Regions from separate parts of the Homo sapiens genome. Here region 2 is linked to region 1. The links are contacts of gene promoters, found by promoter capture Hi-C in blood cells and fetal thymus (Javierre and others, 2016). All regions are on one chromosome and are shown on one strand. Each heading gives the region's core, a stretch centred on a gene start or on the middle of the fragment in contact. The rest is flanking DNA. Distances are from core to core; before and after follow the strand shown. Region 1 holds the start of TG (thyroglobulin). Region 2 overlaps TG (thyroglobulin).

Evidence for each region. Contacts are between HindIII fragments. The CHiCAGO score rates a contact against its expected background, and 5 or more counts as called.
Region 2: a contact is called between a fragment that was not itself captured here and the fragment with the promoter of TG in region 1, in 2 of 17 cell types (M1 macrophages and M2 macrophages). The highest score is 5.6, in M1 macrophages.

Annotation. Positions count from the first base shown.
Region 1 is chr8:132,865,119-132,868,470 of GRCh38, forward strand. It overlaps TG (thyroglobulin), which reads left to right and starts at 1,840. Exons shown (of 48, transcript NM_003235.5): 1 at 1,840-1,949; 2 at 2,997-3,105. The coding sequence starts at 1,883. The HindIII fragment of the contact is 3,355 bases long and covers 1-2,397 here.
Region 2 is chr8:133,098,934-133,102,285 of GRCh38, forward strand. All of the region lies in intron 43 of TG (thyroglobulin), which reads left to right. All of the region lies in intron 1 of SLA (Src like adaptor), which reads right to left. Among named protein-coding and RNA genes, the nearest start is that of SLA, 2.0 kb to the right of the region's middle. The HindIII fragment of the contact is 3,803 bases long and covers 115-3,352 here.

The sequences.
Region 1 (3,352 bases), core at 590-3,089:
CCTGTTTTTAATCCCATACCCTGACACTTCAAATGACTGTTGTGTTTTACTTTCTCTAGTTTATATCAGGAACCCAACAATGATGACAGTAGCTGTTATGGACTGAATTGTGTTCTCCCCCCAAATCCATATGCTGAAGTCCTAAAACCAGGACCTCAGAATGTGACCGCATTTGAAGGTAGGGTCTTTAAAGAGGTAATTAAGTGCACAATGAGGTCACAAGGATGGGCTCTAATCCAATATGACTGGTGTACTTAAAAGAAATAAATATTAAGACACAAACACACACAGGGAAGACCAAGTGAGGATACAGGGAGGAGATGGCCATCTGCAAGCCCAGGAGAGGAGTCTCCAAAGAAACCAACAGTGCTGACACTTTGATCTTGGATTTCCAGCCTTCAGAACTATGAGAAAATAAATTTCTGTTACTTAAGCCACCCAGTCTGTGATAGTTTGTGATGACACCCATAGCAGACTAGTACAGTAGCTAACACTGGATACTTATTATGTGTCAAATACTGTTTTAAGCACTTTGCATATTTTAACACATTTAATATTCATAGCAACCCTATTTGTGGAAGGTAGTACAGTCTACGGCACGGCAGCTATATCGGCCCCTTTATTTTCCCCAGGGTTTGGAGTCTCTTCCACTTTCCAGCTTGTCCTCCTGCCCTTCACTCTACCCGGGACCATATCCTCCAGATTCTCACAGGTCCCTCCATCTCTCCTCAGGTGCCAGGCTCAGCAACCTGCCCTCATTACCTGCCAGTTCCTGACCCTATCTGTCACTAGCTCCTTACCTGGCTGGATTGGTCTTCTGAATACTTGCCATTCCCTGGCATGATGCTTTTGCAAAATAAGAAAATCAATAATAATAATAATAACTGCTAGTGTCTAATAAGCATGTGCTCTTCAATGTCTATTCTCTTACAACTACCTTAACAAATAGGGACATATTATTATTCTCCTTTTAACTTTGCTTTCCAGAGAAGGAGGCTGGGGCTCAGGGAGATGAGGTGAGTTTTTCCAGGTCTCACAGGAACAGGACTGAAGGAAGGAAGCCATGTTTGCCAGGAGAAACCAAATGGACATACAGGCTTTCTGTGGAATACACAGTTCCTGCTATCTTTTGGTTGACAAAGTCTGAGGTCCTAGGAAAGAGAGGAAAGTAATAGAAATATGAATATGAGTGTGTGTGTATTTTGCTTCCCTCACCAAAGTTTTCACAGTCTATATTAATGAGGGCACGATTTTGCCTGTTTTGTTCTCTGCCATATCCTCATTGTCTAGATTAGGTGCCTGCTACTGTGGAGCTCTAAGAGGTTGTTAGAGAAAGAATAGAAGAAAGAAAAGAAGGAAGGAAGGAAAGAAGGAAGAAAGAAAAGAAAGAGGGAAGGAAGGAAAGAAAGAAGGAAGAATGAAAGGAAAGAAGGATAGAAGGGAGAAAGGAAGGAAAGAAGAAAGAAAGGAAGAAAGGAAAGAAGGAAGGAGGAAGGAGAAGGAGAAAGGGTAGGGTGGGGAAGGAAAGAACAAAGGATTGCTTTTCCCTCACTGTGGGCTTGAGCCTGTTCCCTCCAAAGATACAGAGCTTTGGTCTTTACCCATAAAAAAGGATTTTGAAGTCACCCCACCCCGTTCTGTTCCCCCACAGTTTAGACAAGATCCTCATGCTCCACTGGCCACACGAGTGCCCTCAGGAGGAGTAGACACAGGTGGAGGGAGCTCCTTTTGACCAGCAGAGAAAACAGGATGGGGCACTGCCTCACTGAGGACCTGGGGGTGGGAAGGAAAGTGCCAACGGCAGCTCTATAAAAGCTCCCTGGCCAGGGGACCTAGGGCAAGCAGTGGTTTCTCCTCCTTCCTCCCAGGAAGGGCCAGGAAAATGGCCCTGGTCCTGGAGATCTTCACCCTGCTGGCCTCCATCTGCTGGGTGTCGGCCAATATCTTCGGTAAGTTCTGAGGCCATGGAGCCAGGCGGTGGGGAGGGAGCTCCAGTGTCAGCCAGGCTCTGCCCTGGGCCTTCGAACAGGTGCGATCTAATTTAATCTTCACAAATTCCCACATGTCAGTGATTTGCTTTTTTTTTTTCAGATGAAGAGGCAGATTTAGAGAGCCGAACTGAATTACTTGAGGTCACAGAGCTAGTGATTGATGGAGCAGAAATGGGAAATGTGGTTGATCTTCCTAATTCAATTCTAGGTCCTCCTCACCCCACCATTTTGGCAAACTTTTGGCATTGACCTTGGGTTTTTATCCCCTTAGCTATTCCAAAGTCTGTGTCATCCATAACAGGTATTTTAGAAGCAGTAGAAAAAGAAATCTACCTATGAAGTGAAATAGCCCTAAGTTCTGTCTTTGGCTCAGCCACTTACCCATATGACTTCGGGCAAAGTGCCAAGCTTCTGTTTTTTTTTTTTTTTTTTCATTTAAAAAGTAAACAAATAACACACACCTCATGATGCGGTTGTGATTTCTGGGTAGGACCCTATGTGTTACAAGAGTTCTCAATGGAAAAATAAGTCATGTACATTATTAATTAATTGGTATTTCAATGTTTATCTGGAACATGTTACATCTGCAGGGCATGGCTTGATAGATTCAAGAAGAACTTCCTTACGGTTCTCTAACTTACTCCAAATAGCCTCATGGGAATTGCGGCAGGGTGGGGGCGGGCGGGGAACGTGTAGTCCCAGCGTTGATTTTGGGATCCTTCACTTGCCAGTTACGTGACTTTGGGCAGACGACTTTCGCTGCCTGAGACTTGGTGCCTCATGAGTGACAAGGATATATTGCCTGTCACCTCTTAGGAGAATGTTGCACATTAAATGAGCTAATGTCATACTTGTAAGAAAGTGTGCTTAGCTGCCAAATTTTAAAATAGGCTGTCATAGGTAATGATGATGACCCTGGAAAAGCATCTGTGCTTATGAGAGCCCGTCTCTGTCCTGGCAGCCCAGTCCACACTCTTCTTTGATGAACCACTTTTCTTTTCCTAGAGTACCAGGTGGATGCCCAGCCCCTTCGTCCCTGTGAGCTGCAGAGGGAAACGGCCTTTCTGAAGCAAGCAGACTACGTGCCCCAGTGTGCAGAGGATGGCAGCTTCCAGTAAGGCTTATGTCAGCAGCGAACTCTCAAGGTCCAAGATGCCATAAAAAGCATCTTGTGCCTTCCCCCCTCTTCCTGAGCTCTGCCCTGCAACTCCTTTGTGCATGTGAGGCTTGGCCACTGTCATTTGGAGGTGCCTGCCTTTCAGTTCCACTGTCATTTGGAGGTGCCTGCCTTTCAGTTCCCCAAGCTGTTCAACACTGGACAATCTGACCAAGTGAACCCCAATCCATGCTTCATCCTCCCA
Region 2 (3,352 bases), core at 766-3,265, 230 kb after region 1:
TCCTGAATTCCTTAACCAGTCCAGCCAGAGACCTGAATCCAGAGGACTGGGATCTCTACTCAAGGATGCATTTGCATTCTTCTCATTGAGCTTCCCTCTAAGGTTTTTAAGGAAAGCTTACTTTGTTTACTTGCAAAGAAAGATGGGGCCACCAGCAGGAGGCTCACTGCCAAACAGGGGCCTGGCTGGAGAAGCCAGCATTGAAGTTGGGCACCCCCAAATAGAGAAGCCTCTCTAAGGGCACAGCAGAGCAGCTGCTAGCCCTGCTCCATGGCGGTCATCCCAGACACCAATCACAGGGCAGTGTTCCCCCAGCACATTTGTTCATTGGTTAGACCGTTCGTTTCTGGCTTCGCTTCTTCATTCATTCCCTTGGGACACGCATTAGTGAAGCCACTGAGCAGCTTTTGTGAGCCTGCATCCTGCCAAGAACTCATCTAGGTGCTAATTGATGAGGAGGACTACCTGCAGCAGGAGAGTAGTGACGGTGGGACTGGAAGCCAGCTCACAGCTCAGTGCCACTGCATGCAATCATCTCCTAAACATGTGTCTGCACACAGATTTATTCCTCCTGGACTTTTCCCTTGAACTCTGAACTGGTTTAGCCAATGGCCCACTTGACATCTTCACTTACATGTCTCATAGTGTCTCATCCATAACACACCCAAAGTGGACTGCCGATTCCACCTCTGCTCCCATCCCCAACCAGCATGTTCTTCTGTAGTCTTCACCATCTCAGTAAACAACTCAGCAACTAAACAACTCATCCTTCTGTACTCAGGCTCAAAACCAAAAGTCATTCCTGACACTGCTCTCTCATACCCTACCAGCATTCTATCAGAAAATCCAGCTGGCTGTATTTTCCAAATGTATCCCAAATCCAAACCCTGCTCCCCTACCTCTTCTGCTATCACCCTGATCCAGCCACTTTATTTGAGATTTTTGTGCTAGCCCCCAACTCTCTCTCTGCACCTGCCTTGCCTCTTATAATCTATGAGAAGCACAGTAGCCAGAGCAATCCCTTTATAAGTCAGACCATTTTACTCCTCTGCTCCAAGCCTTCTCTCCAGTGGCCTCCTCTCATGCAGAGGAAAATTCCAGTCTTCTATGAACTGCCAGAGCCTATTTGATGTGACCTCTGTTAGCTCTCTGACCTTAACTCCTGCTGTTCCCTCTTGGCTCACTGGTTTATCCCTTTAGAGTTTCTCAAATAGGCTGAGCACATCCCATATCAGGGTCCTGGTACTTGCTGTTTTTTCTTCTGGAATGTTCTTCCCAGACAACTCACTGCCTTACTCCCTTCAGGGTCTGCTTATCAGAAAGACCTTGCTTGACCACTTGGATTCAGAGGGAAGCCATATCCCCAGCCTTCTCTATCCCTACATCCTACACCCTACCCCAGCACTCAAACCTCCTGCCATATTATGTATTTGTCTGTTGTCTTTCTTCCCCAACTAGAATGTTTGAAACTGCTATATCTCTGGTGCCTAGAAATGTTTCTAGTTCTGCTAGACAAATTGCACACAGCAGGCACACAATAGACATTCACTAGGATGAATGAATGAAATTATGAAGAACTGACTATGTGCTGGGCCCTAACCTGGAAGTCTTCAATGAAATAATTCACCCTCACAACTATTACCCTATGAGGTGGGGATTATTATTACTATTTTTCAGAGAGAAACCAGAATTAAAACCCAGTTCTATCTGCCTCCAAATATCCTCTTCCCATGACGTCACTCTGGGAAAAGCCAGGCTTTCCTCTGAGAGCCTTCCATCTACCATCAACGGTATGCTGGGTACTGAAATGTACACAAACCCAGCTAGAATAAAGGCTACTATGTGCAAAGGGCTTTCCAATTCTACCCACATTCTTTTTTTTCTGTAGTCATTTATTGATTTATTTATAATTTTAAAATTTCAATAGCCTTAGGGGTTAGCCTAAGTGAAGTAACTCATGCTCTTACTTTACGTTATCTCAACTGTATGGCTGTGAGGTAGGGAACCATGAACCAGTATTTAACACGATTTTTTTTCTGGGAAAGAAAGGCTTAGTGAGGTTTACCGGGTGTCTCTAGGTCAGCTAACTAGTCCTTTGGAAAGCCAAGTCTCCACTGCAGGTCTCTGACCCCAATTGCAGGGCAGGAGTGGGGAGGGTGGCGGGTGGCAGGCTCTACCCATTACCCTATCTGTGATAAACACTAGGTCAGGGATGCGCTATCACCACCTTACCCCCACCATACGCAAGCATCACCTAGAGAGATCCTCAGGATTCTACCCCACACAGAACTGCAAGAGGGCACAGTGGACAACCAAGTGGAAACTGAGTTATGAGCTATGCTCCCACCCTCCCAACAGTGAGGAAACTCCTCTGGACTTCAACCCAATGTGCCCTTGTATTGCCCTCCCTTGCCTCAGCCCACTCCCAACCTGAATTTAGAGTTGGGCTTGTGCATTTCTCTGTTTGCCCCAAGAAGGCTCCATGGCACCTGGGTCCAACCACCATCAGCCAAGGAGGACCTGAAGATGGCAGGTTCTGGAGGGCCTCAATCTCAGCCATGCCTTTTACTCCATCCTCTGTCCTTTGATACCCACCCAGCCCCTCCTGCCCCATCTGGGGCTGAGAAACAGGACATATCAATTGCAGTAAATTGCCACATCCACCTAAACAGGGTGTCCAGCATGTTTTTGTAACACCAACACCTGTTTGTTTAGTCATGCTGGGCCAGGTGTTTCAGCATAAAATACAAATTGAATTCCTCCCCTCAGAAGGGCTTGCAGTCAGATGATAACAGACAAGGCAAACAACTGAAACACCATTGATACATACTATATGGAGAGATGGACATCTATTCCAAGACCTCAGGAGGTGGAGATCAGGTGCCATTGGGCCCCATAGCAGCACTGTCAGCTGGAGTGACACAATGGCCAGGAACTGACCAGGACCCCGCTCCCTTGGTCATGTGTCAACACAGCAGGGAGAGTGTCCTGGGTGTCCTTGGATTGCAATCACGAGCATCCAAGTTACCCAGAGTCTGAGCCTCAGTTTCCCTATCTGTGAAGTTGGGAGATGATTAGTAAATATCCTCATAAAGATGTTCAAAAATTCAAATACACAACAATATCTGGAAAATAGTTTGGCTTCAATAAATGTTCGTTCTTTTCCCTTAATTTTTTAATTTTAATATTAAGATTAGTGTCCAAAGCTGTTATCCCTTCTTCAGATAATTATACACAGAAAGCAGGAATACAAAGAACGTCCAATCTCTGAACCACCTCAGCTGACCTGAGACCAATTTTCCAAATTGTAGTAAACACAAATGCATGCTCTCTACTCATGCCAACGCTGCAT